Regions from separate parts of the Homo sapiens genome. Here region 1 is linked to region 2. Evidence: promoter capture Hi-C in 16 types of primary human blood cells and fetal thymus (Javierre and others, 2016). All regions are on one chromosome and are shown on one strand. Each heading gives the region's core, a stretch centred on a gene start or on the middle of the fragment in contact. The rest is flanking DNA. Distances are from core to core; before and after follow the strand shown. Region 1 holds the start of REP15 (RAB15 effector protein). Region 2 holds the start of BMAL2-AS1 (BMAL2 antisense RNA 1).

What was found. The method cuts DNA at HindIII sites, captures the fragments that hold promoters and counts their contacts. A CHiCAGO score of 5 or more calls a contact.
Region 1: a contact is called between the fragment with the promoter of REP15 here and the fragment with the promoter of BMAL2-AS1 in region 2, in 10 of 17 cell types (endothelial precursors, non-activated CD4 T cells, total B cells and 7 more). The highest score is 7.1, in endothelial precursors.

Annotation. Positions count from the first base shown.
Region 1 is chr12:27,692,748-27,699,052 of GRCh38, forward strand. REP15 (RAB15 effector protein) reads left to right here and starts at 3,700. Exons shown (of 1, transcript NM_001029874.3): 1 at 3,700-4,849. The coding sequence starts at 3,816. The coding sequence ends at 4,526. It overlaps PPFIBP1 (PPFIB scaffold protein 1), which reads left to right. Exons shown (of 30, transcript NM_003622.4): 30 at 49-2,817. The coding sequence ends at 135. All of the region lies in intron 3 of MRPS35-DT (MRPS35 divergent transcript), which reads right to left. The HindIII fragment of the contact is 1,154 bases long and covers 2,975-4,128 here.
Region 2 is chr12:27,444,977-27,450,389 of GRCh38, forward strand. It overlaps BMAL2-AS1 (BMAL2 antisense RNA 1), which reads right to left and starts at 1,658. Exons shown (of 4, transcript NR_109975.1): 1 at 1,521-1,658. SMCO2 (single-pass membrane protein with coiled-coil domains 2) reads left to right here and starts at 1,760. Exons shown (of 9, transcript NM_001395208.2): 1 at 1,760-1,849. The HindIII fragment of the contact is 11,011 bases long and covers 1-5,413 here.

The DNA.
Region 1 (6,305 bases), core at 2,450-4,949, 250 kb after region 2:
TCTGAGCTCTTGGCTCTCAGTGTGACTCCCTGTCTCCTTGTTTTCCAGCACATGTTAAAAGAAGATGACATGTTTAAAGATTTTGCTGCCCGTTCCCCCAGTGCCAGCATTACAGATGAAGACTCAAACGTTTGACCGTAGCACCTGGATGAACATTAGGAGTGCTTAGTCTTTTTTCTACTTGCTTTTCCAAACACTCACAGTATATACAACAGGCAGCGGATTGTCTATTGTTTGTTGTTCCAACTTCTGCTGTCGAGAAGTTTAAACAGAAAGCAGGAGTAATGTGCCGATTCTGAAGTTGCCACAAAAAATAAGACACTGGTGAATGAGAGTATAATTGTTTTTCTTCTATTTAATGTAAAAATCTGTGATATATTATATTTAAAGTGTTGCATTTAAGATGAGTATTTTACCAGAGTGTTTCCATTCATATCCGCGGTATGGAGGATTTGAGGAACAGTAACCAGGATGTGAATGATTTTGTTACATCAGTGTTCACTGTAGCCACCTAAGTAGGACATTATATGATTTCAGAATCAATATGTGGAACTTCTTTAAGCATTCAGTGTGCCCACTAAATGCCAGCCACACCTCCACTTGCCTCTTATTGTCTTATTTTTATATATTTTTCTAAATATATGTATATATACAGTACATAGAAAATAGAACTTTTATTTTGTGACCTAAGGACGATGGTGAAAAGATCACGTTTTCAAAACAATCTGGTGATCAGAATGTTCATATACCAGCTGGTTTCTGAAGAGGTCAGAATGATCTTTCTCCATACTGACTTTTAACAATGTTGATCATTGAGGCTAAATTAATATATATGAAATATTCCTTTTTGATGACACCACAAAATTGTTGAACAGTTTAAGAATTTCAACCTTAATCTTGGATCCCTTTACCTCATATGGAAGAACTTGAGGGACATTAGTATACTTTTTTTTAAGATGGAGTCTTGCTCTGTCACCCAGGTTGGAGTGCCATGGCATGATCTTGGCTCACTGCAACCTCCACCTCCTGGGTCAAGCCATTCTGCTTCAGCCCCAAGTAGGTGGGACTCCAGGCATGCACCACCATGCCTGGCTAATTTTTGCATTTTTAGTAGAGACAGGGTTTCACCATATTGGCCAGGCTGGGACTCGAACTCCTGACCTTGTGATCTGCCCGCCTCAGCCTCCCAAAGTACTGGGATTATAGGCATGAGCCACCACGCCCAGCCTGTTATTTTTTTATTATTATTGTTTTTTTTTAGTGACAGAGTCTCATTCTGTTGCCCATGCTGGAGTGCAGTGGCGTGATCATAGCTCACTGCAGCCTTGAATTCCTAGGCTCCAGTGATCCTCTCACCTCAGCTTCCCTAATAGCTAGGATTACAGGTGTGTGGCCTCCCACCCCACCCCACCCTTCACACCTGGCTGATTTTTCAAAAAGTTTTTTTGTAGAAACAGGGTCTCACCATGTTGTCCAGCCTGGTCTCAAACTCCTGTCCTCAAGTGATCCTCCCACCTCAGCCTTTCAAAGTGCTGGAATTACAGGTGTGAGCCACTCTGCCTGGCCTACCACTAACTTGAATACATTCAGAATCACCTCCTCTCCCCAAAATTTGTAGAAATAGTTTTTGAGGAAGCCAAAAGCAAAGCAGAAACCTTTACAGTATTGTTTCTTTTCTCTTTGTTAACTGTGTCATTACAGCAAAATACTAGCAGTCTGCCTAAACATGTTCATTGTACATTTCTCAGGCTATCAATGAATGGAGGTTTTTAAAAAGTTGAATATTTGTCTGAACATTTTATTTCAAAGTTCAAAAAAACAGAGGCTGCAAAATTCATTTTATAATGGCTATTTTGTGACGATAAGATGTAGTTCATGTTTTTCTGTAGCACTGGGCCCAAATATTCTTTGTAAAGAAAATCGCTGCAGCAAAAACTGTTACTGTGTTTATTATATTTGTAGAAGTATTAGAAAAATATTCTATTTTTTATTCAGTGCTGCGTAATTACCCATGGTAGCCAACCCTACAAAAGACAGGTTTTCACAAATTGAGGTGGAGGTGGGCGGTTCAGTATCTGCCACTGGACTTGATTATAAACTGTATTTGAATATCAGTGGTATTATCTTTTAAGTTGTCAGCAAGTTACCAAGGTATTCATTAAAGAACTTGTAATATCAAATTACTATTTATTCATAACAATTGATTTGATGCTAATAATAATTTTCTTTAAACTCTACCATTCATTATGTGGTAACTGTATTGAACTTACTTTATTTGGATTTTATTTTAATGTGACTAGATGTCACCACTTCAAAAAATCAATTTGTTCTTAGAACCTGGTTGAAAATACCAGGAAACTGTTACAGACGCCATTTTTTTTTTTTTTGAGACGGAGTCTTGCTCTGTTGCCCAGGCTGGAGTGCAGTGGCACAATCTCAGCTCACTGCAAGCTCCGCCTCCTGGGTTCACGCCATTCTCCCACCTCAGCTTCCCAAGCAGCTGGGACTACAGGTACCTGCCACCACGCCTGGCTAATTTTGTTTTTGTATTTTTAGTAGAGACGGGGTTTCACCGTGTTAGCCAGGAAGGTCTCAATCTCCTGACCTCGTGAATCGCCCCCCTCGGTCTCCCAAAGTGCTGGGATTACAGGCGTGAGCCACCATGCCCGGCCCAAATATTTTTTATTCAGGATGGTATAACCTAACTGATAATAGGTAATAAGGTTAAATTTTTTTATGACGTATTTTATTTACAAATATCATACACTGCTGGTGTTACCATATGAAAGGAAATAAAGTCAATTGATAATTGCCTCATTTTTATTGCCCTTATTTCATTTTCCGTTGTTCATAGTAACAGGCTTTGTTTCTGACATAGAAAATAACACAATCTCTTTATAAACTGCCATAAATTTGTTCGAATGGAGTTTATAATGTGTATCAACAGATAGGAATTTGAGGCCTTTGTTTGAGAAGCTTTTGTAGGAAAAGAAGCAACTGAGCTGGGGAATGAAGAATCATGGCAGAAGGTAAAAGAAACAAAAACAAACAAAAAAAGAAAATAGGAAAAGCAAATGGAAATGACTCACCTAGAGATTGGAAGAAGTTAGTTGTAGAAAGAGGTGTATGGATATTTAAAAAACTAACATAGGGCTGGGTGCAGTGGCTCATGCCTATAATCCCAGCACTTTGGGAGGCCGAGGCGGGAGGATTGCTTGAGCCTAGGAGATTGAGACCAGCCAGGACAACATGGTGAAACCCCACCTCTACAAAAAATACACAAAAATTAGCCAGGTGTGGTGGTATACACTTGTAGCCCCAGCTACTCAAGAGGCTGAGGTGAGATCACCTGAGCCCAGGGAGGTTGAAGCTGCAGTGAGCCATGATTGCGCCACTGCACTCCAGCCTGGGTAGCAGAGTGAGACCCTGTCTCAAAAAACAAAAACAAAAAGAACTAACGTGCTATTTTTACTTCAACTAAAACTTGGAAAGAGGAAACATGTTGGAAGAGATTACCAAAGATTAAAAGTAGAGTGAATATAACCTAGATAGAACAGATGTTTTGTGTGAAATTTAGTATCTTTAACTTAATAAACCAGCAGGAACTGTATGAACACAACACACCCAACTGACAAACAGAGAGAACTAACATGTTTATTTAGCTGTATGTATATATGCTTAACTACACCCGAGGAAGCTGTAGAGTTAGAAAAACATGAACCATTAACAGATGTGGCCTCCCTGCAGAACTTTTACTTTGAAAAAGAAGTACGTCTGAACCAGATTCACATGTTTGATATTTGGATGCAGAGAAAATGGGGCAGAAAGCATCGCAACAGTTGGCTCTGAAGGACAGCAAAGAGGTGCCCGTCGTCTGTGAGGTGGTCAGTGAAGCTATAGTCCATGCAGCTCAGAAACTGAAGGAGTACCTTGGATTTGAATATCCTCCAAGTAAACTCTGCCCAGCTGCAAATACTCTGAATGAGATCTTCTTAATCCATTTCATCACTTTCTGCCAAGAAAAGGGAGTTGATGAGTGGCTGACCACCACCAAGATGACCAAGCACCAAGCCTTCCTGTTTGGTGCAGACTGGATTTGGACCTTTTGGGGATCCAACAAGCAAATAAAGCTTCAGCTCGCAGTACAGACTCTGCAGATGTCTTCACCTCCTCCTGTGGAATCTAAGCCTTGTGACCTTTCCAATCCAGAATCAAGGGTAGAGGAGTCTTCCTGGAAGAAAAGTAGATTTGATAAGCTGGAAGAATTCTGTAACTTAATAGGAGAGGATTGCCTGGGTCTGTTTATCATCTTTGGTATGCCAGGAAAGCCTAAAGACATCAGGGGAGTTGTCCTGGACAGTGTCAAAAGTCAGATGGTGAGGAGCCATCTGCCAGGAGGGAAGGCTGTGGCTCAGTTTGTCCTGGAAACTGAAGATTGTGTGTTCATCAAAGAGCTGCTCAGAAATTGTCTGAGTAAGAAAGACGGGCTGAGAGAGGTGGGCAAGGTTTATATCAGCATTCTCTGACTTGGATATGTATTATGTGAGTGGCCTGTAAGAGGAAAAGAAAAAAAGATTCTAATAAGCAAGCTCACCTATTTGCATCATTCCAGCATGGGATTTTTTTTCATTTGTTTTCCCATTGATTGAAAATGATTACTGGGATCAAAGTACATTCATGTCGCAATTACAGAGAGAGAGAGAAAAAAAGAAAACCCTGGCTCTGCCTATGATTTAAAAACAGTTCAGGAAAAGTTATAATTTAGTTTAATATTTCATTCACTTATTCAATAATAAAAATGGAAGAGAGATAATAAAGTCACATTTAAAGTTTGATTTGCAAAAAAAAAGTGTCTGTTTGAAATAATAAGTCTAGCACTCAAAAGTATAAAATGTGTTTTTGCATCTGTTGGTGGGAGATGGGTAGGATAAAGTAGTGGGTAAGGCTACAGAGCAGGTTTAATTACATTTGTAATGCCAGTTTCAAGCCAGGCACAGTGGCTTATGCCTATGGTCTCAGCTACTCAGTAGGCTGAGGTGGGAGGATCGCTTGAGCCCAGGAGTTTAAGGCTACAGTGAGCTGTGATTGCACCACTGTGCTCTAGCCTGGGCAACAGAGTGAATCCTCATCTTTAAAAAAAAAAAAATAGTTTGGGTTCAGGACTCCTGCACAAAACTCACAGCGTTCTTTTCCTCTAACACTTACCTTATTCTGTCTTCTCCCTAGCTGCTGTCTCTGCACTGAGAGGACTTTGATGGGATTTACTTTGAGATTCACTTTAGTGTTAGCTCTGCCTATGATTTAAAAACAGTGACCTATAAAACTATTCCTTTTAATAATACTTGTTTAGCCTTTGCAGTAAGGAAGGTGTATTCACATATAATAACCATTTTTACTTAAAAGCCAGTGTGGAATTATAACAGTACAAAAAGGAATCACCATTATTTATTGCACTTGTAAGTCAAGTCAGATGCTTTACATATATTAGCGTGATTTGCATGTGTCTTCCATGACTCTAAGAGGTTTCTATTTGCCAAATCAAAGAGGCTAGATAACTCATAAATCTATTAAGTGGCTTGTAACAAAAAAGTAAAGTCTGCCCAGTTACAAAGCCCATATTCTACAGTCGTGTAAAGAAAATTCCCTGTAAGCCTATAAATTAGGTTAAGTAAAAATCAATTAAAAAAAAAAGAAGAAGAAAAGAAAATTCTTTGGCCAGGAAGAGTAGCTGTGATCCCAACACTTTGGGAGTCTGAGGCAGGAGGATTGCTTGAGCCCAGGAATTCAAGACCAGCCTGGACAACATGGTGAAACCCCATCTCTACAAAAAATACAAAAAGTCATGGTGATGTGTGCCTGTAGTCCCAGCTACTTGGGAGGCTGAGGTAGGGGGACTGCTTGGGTCCGGGAGGTCAAGGTTGCAGTGAGTCGTGATCGTGCCACTGCCCTCCAGCCTAGGCAACAGAGCAAGACCCCATCTCAATAAATACATAAAAAGAAAATTCTCTGATTTTAAACTACTGGAATTGCTGAGACAACAAAGGTGTTCACCTGCAAAAATGCTAGCTGGTTACTGTTGCTCATTTTTCCTCCATTTCCTGGCCTTAATCTGTGGCTACTTTTCCTGTTGTTGAACCACCTGTTCACTGATACGCAGCCATTAGAAACATGGGCTGAATCCTTTCAACTGCATCCAACCTCTTAAAATCGTTTCTGTTTCTGACAGTCTTCTTATGGCCTTGGCCTTTTCTGTATTTTGGAATTTAGGGCATGTTCCTGTGAGGCTGAATTAAGACATATGAGCG
Region 2 (5,413 bases), core at 408-2,907:
ATATATATACACAGTGGAGTATTATTAAGCTATAAAAAAAGAATGAAATCCTGCCCTTTGCAGCAACATGGATAGAAATGGAGGCCATTATGCTGTGTGAAATAAGCCAAGCACAGAGAGACAAATATCGTATGTTCTCACTCATATGTGGGAGCTAAAAAAAGTGAATCTCGTGAAGATAGACAGTAGATTGGTGGTTACCAGAGGCAGCGAAGGGGAGGGGAATAAAGGCAAAACAAAGAATATCAATGTATTTATTGCTACTGAACTGCATTTAAAAATGGTAAATATGGTAAATTATACATGTATAGTGTACCTCAATAAAATTTTTAAAAATACAGGAACCCAGTTTAATTTGAATTTCAGATAAACCATGAATTTTTTTTAGAATAAGTATATTCCATGCACTATTTGGCATATAATTATATTAAACATGTTTTTACTGTTTACTTGAAATTCAAATTTAACTGGGTGTTCTATATTTTATCTGACAACCCTATTAAGAGTTTTGAATTTCAATAATTCATATCACAGCCTTAGTTTAGGATTCTAAAATATGAAACAAAAGCCACAATTTCAAAACTGAAAACTTGCAACGTAAACTATATAAGCTCAATTTGTTACAGCTGCAATTCACTCAGACCCACATGTCCCAAGATAAGACCACAGACAAACCATTTTAACAGTTAACTCCACAGGGACCCATGTGTCCCAGCAAGACCACTTACCTTTCCACAAGTGTCTTAGCTCAGGCTGCCATCACGAAATACCACAGAGTGGGTGGCTTAAACAACAGAAATTTATTTTCTCACAGTTCTGGAGAATAGAAGTCCAAGATCAAGTGCTAGCATGGTCTGTTTCTGGTGAGGGCTCTCTTTCTGGCTTGTAGAAGGTGGCCTTCTTTTTTTCTTTTTCTTTTTCTTTCTCTCTCTCTCTTTTTTTTTTAAGACAGAGTCTTGCTCTGTCGCCCAGTCTGGAGTGCAATGGCGTGATCTCAGCTCACTGTAACCTCTGCCTCACAGGTTCAAATGATTCTCCTGCCTCAGCCTCCCAAGTAGCTGGGATTATAGGCACCCACCAACACGCCCAGCTACTTTTTGTATTTTTAGTAGAGATGGGGTTTCACCATGTTGGCCAGGCTGGTCTTGAACTCCTGACCTCGTAATCCACCCACCTCAGCCTCCCAAAGTGCTAGGATTACAGGCATGAGCCACTGCACCTGGCCAATGGTGGCCTTCTTAATGTGTCCTCACATGGTGGGAGTTGGGAAGCAGGGATTGGGAACAGAGGGAGCAGGAGGGGAAGGGGAGAGAGAGATGGAGGAGGGAGAGAGAAAGCTCTCTGGTGCCTCTTCTTATAAGGGCACTAATCTCATTTATGAGGGCCCCACCCTCATAACCTCATCTAACCTTAATTATCTCCCAAAGGCCTGATCTCCAAATACCATCACATTGGGGCGTAGGTCTTCAACATATGAATTTGGAGGGAAAAACAATTCAGTCAATAACACAGAAACTTACCTAGTTTATAAATTGGATCAATCCCTGACAAAACGTCACTGATCAACTTCCACTCTGAAAATACTCCATGACTAACCAGCATCCTAACCTCCCCACTTTGAGACACTATGGGACTCTATCAAGATGATGTTGATCCTCGAGTTTAATAAGAGCCAATGTGGGTTCTGTGACATCATCATCTCTCTGCTTCTGATTGGTCAAGTATCCTCTCTCTCTCCCCACTTTTCTCCCTCTAATCCAGTGGTTCTCAAACATTAGCTGTACCTGAGGCCCTTGGGGAGCTTCTTAAACCTCAGGCTGCTGGGCCCACTCCCGGAGTTCCTGATTCAGTAAGTCTGGGAGGGGGCCTGGGAATTTGCATTTCTAACAAGTTCCCTGATGCTTTTGCTGATGCTGGTCCAGGGACCATGCTTTAAGAACTTCTGCCTTAGAGATCCTCTTGAATTGTCTGGGGTCGGGGTTAGGGACGGTGGCTGAGCATTGGCATTTTATAAAGTTCCCCACGTGATTCTGACATGGAGACAGCATTGAAAACACTGTTCTAATGCAGTTTCCACACTGTAGTCAGTGTGCTTTTTGGAAAGCACAGATCCGATAAAGGAACTCATCAGCTTAAAACAGTGAATGGCATCTCACTGCCCTCAGTAATAGACACAGCCCCTTAACAAGGCTTATGGGGCCCTGTATGATGGGTTTCCATTTACTTCACTTTCACCTCCAGCCCCTTCTTGAGCTACCTCACCACCTCATGCCCCACAGTCCAGGATTACTGGGGAAACCACAGTTCCCTGAAGATGATCTTGATCCTTTTCTCCATAAGGCTTTGCCCATTCTGCATCTTTACTGGGGAAGCTGTCACCACCGACACACCTCTCTACCTGGCTAACCCTTTCTTGCTCTTCAGAGCCTTACTACTAACAGGGTGATCCATGGACCAGCTGCAACAGCCTCTTCGGGAGCTTGTTAGAAAGGCAGAATCGGCCAGGTGCGGTGGCTCACACCTGTAATCCCAGCACCTTGGGAGGCCAAGGTGGGAGGATCGCTTCAGCCCAGGAGCCTGAGACCAGCCTGGCAACACAGCAAAACCTTGTCTCTATAAAAAATACAAAAACTTAGCTGGGCATGGTGATCCGCATCTGTAGTCCCAACTACTCGGGAGGCTAAGGTGGGAGGAGGTCAAGGCTGCAGTGAGTGGTGATCGCAGGCTGGGAGACAGAGCAAGACTCTGTCTCAAAAAAAAAAAAAAAAAGCAGAACTTTAGGCCTCACTCCAGACCTCCTGAATCAGAACCTACATTTTAACAAGATCCTAGAATGATTCACATTTACAGTAAAATTTGAGAAACTGTTTTCGGGCTTCTGTAGATGTACTTTCTCTGGACTTACGCGTCTGAGCCCCAGAAACTCAGCCGAGTGCCTCTCCTATGTGCTGCCACCGCAACCTTCCCTAGCACTTAACACATTGCACCTGACCAGAGCCAAGTGGCCTGCAAGCTCCGCAGGGACAGGAACTGTATCTTTACGCATGCTTGCATTCTCCACTCCAGCACAGTACCTGACACATAGCAGATGCTCAAAAATAGTTATCAATTAAATACATGTTTTTAGAAACAAGTAGAGAAAGTATTAGCTTTCCGGTTAGAAAATTTTGGACTTAAGTTCTTGATTTACCACTTACTAGCTGTAGGACCTTGAACAAGTCACCCTCCTCCCAGAAGTTGTTACTCATTGTTAAATTGAGAATATTATCAAGTACCCTACAGAGGTGTTGTCAGGATTAGTGACATAATAGATGTAAACCCAGAATGCTATGTCTGCCAGGTCAGAATTGCACGATAAAGAAGAGTGCCCTCCGCCTTAGTTCTCCCAAGCGGCAAGTCTTTACTGAGTTTAGTAGAATACTACTTGTTGAAATAGAAAGGGTGGCCACACTTGAACTTAATGCCATTTTTCTTTCTATTTTCCCCCAACTGCATAAAAGCAAAACCAAATAAACAAACCTGAGAATTGAACTGGAATCAATGCTTTTCTCGGCATTGTGTCAGAAGAACAAAACTTAAACTGGGGCCAGCAGACCCTTAAGCTCCTTAAGCCAGGCTCTGGGACCCTTGGGATTAAATTTTTAAAATCCTCTCTCCAGTTCTAAACAAAAGTAAACAAGGGAACCTTTTATAATGTGGTTCAAGGTGAGGCAGTAAACAAATGACCTTTAAGCAGAATAATCAGCTTAATATGTACTAGCTGGAGGTTAACATTTGCATTGAGAAAGGTCTTATGGTCTTATTGATAATTCACTCGGAGGTCACTCTAACATCCTCTACCCTCATTCTCCAACCACATGATTCTCTAAACCCCTCAATCTCCCGCTCCCACACATAGTCTACCAGTTGACCAAATAATGAGAGAAGAATGGAATTGTCAAACCAGAATCAAAGGGGTAAAAGACAGAAGGACTTTGAAAGAGGAGAAAGAGAAGGCAAGCGGTGGGAAACTGTCCATCCACTGCAGACTCAAGTGTATGTTGGCTCAAAAAGTTGAGGACTAAGGCCAGCCTAGGTCTCAGCCACCCTGCAGGCTTTGTGTGGGTCTGAAAACTTGACCTGATTATATGCTCCTAAGTGTTCTAGACTGGCTAAACCAAGACTGTTGAATTATAAATCATGCCACCCCTGCACCCGCTTCCGTGATCACAAAAAAAACATAATGCTAGCGTTATTAGATAAGCCGCAAAGGTCATCAAGGTGTTTCTTTGAACTGCCACACCCAAACGAAATACTTGCTCTGATCTTTGCATAAACAACATTTGGATGAACAAACATTTCATACTTTCGTTATGTTTATCTTTGTAAGGGACAAAATCTGTCACCTGCTGCATACTTCTGAAAAAATTATAGGAACAAGTTGACATACTTTCTCAATTATACAGAATTCTCTGCAAAAATGAAATTATTAAAATTAATTGTGAGAAACACAGGAAACTGCTTATGGAGGGATCACAGTAAGAGACTGACAGAAGGGAGTAATGAGGCTTCTCCTCCATTTCCTTCTTGGAAACTTTTTCTGCACAGAGAAAATGTGGTTGAAAACCTATTGTGCCTTGGATTGAGTTAAAGGTCACACCCAAGGATTTATACAGATTTAGTTCTCATCTGGTCCCTTGAAGGGGGGAAAAGTTAAAATATCCAATACAAATCCATTGAGTGATGCACTGATAACACCAATTATGTCCCACTCCCCTCTTGGTACATTGGACTTCTATTTCTCTGGCTGGGTATTTCCATTGTCCTATAATACAATGACAGGCTCTTACAAGGCCAGTTTTCCCCCATTAGAGAACCAAAAGGAGGGGCTGAGCCCATTTCTTGGGCTTTAATGCCTGGCTACGTGGGTCCGAATCTCTAGCTAAGCCCTTCCTGTAGGACTGTTGAAAGACTCGAGCAGGCAGCCCTGCCTTTGCTGCCTCCCTTCATTCGTTCTCACCTCCATCCATTCATCGGCCAGTTTTAGCTCATGACCCCTACTCCAATCATAATTGTCTCCTCTTAAGTCAATCTTATCAAATGCTGTGCGGAATGGATTCTGTGGGCCACATTCAGGAACACAGAGTTCTTCCCAGCTCAGCTCTGCTCCTCTCAGGGTAGAGGTCTGTGGAGCCTCTGGCTGCCTGTCCTGTTCTGAGGGTCACACCTGGTCACCAAAACATATTCTCCTCAAGGCTGTTGACCTTCCTTTCTTGATTCAGGCCTTGCAATCCCTACCTTGGGAAGGAGGCAGGCACCCTATTTCTCTGGCCCTCCTCCCTCCCTGCCCCCACCCCCCACCAACTAGGCTGGGCTGCCTGACAAGCACCATGTGACCTCGCCTGTTTCTTCTGATGCCCAGTTTCCACTGGAC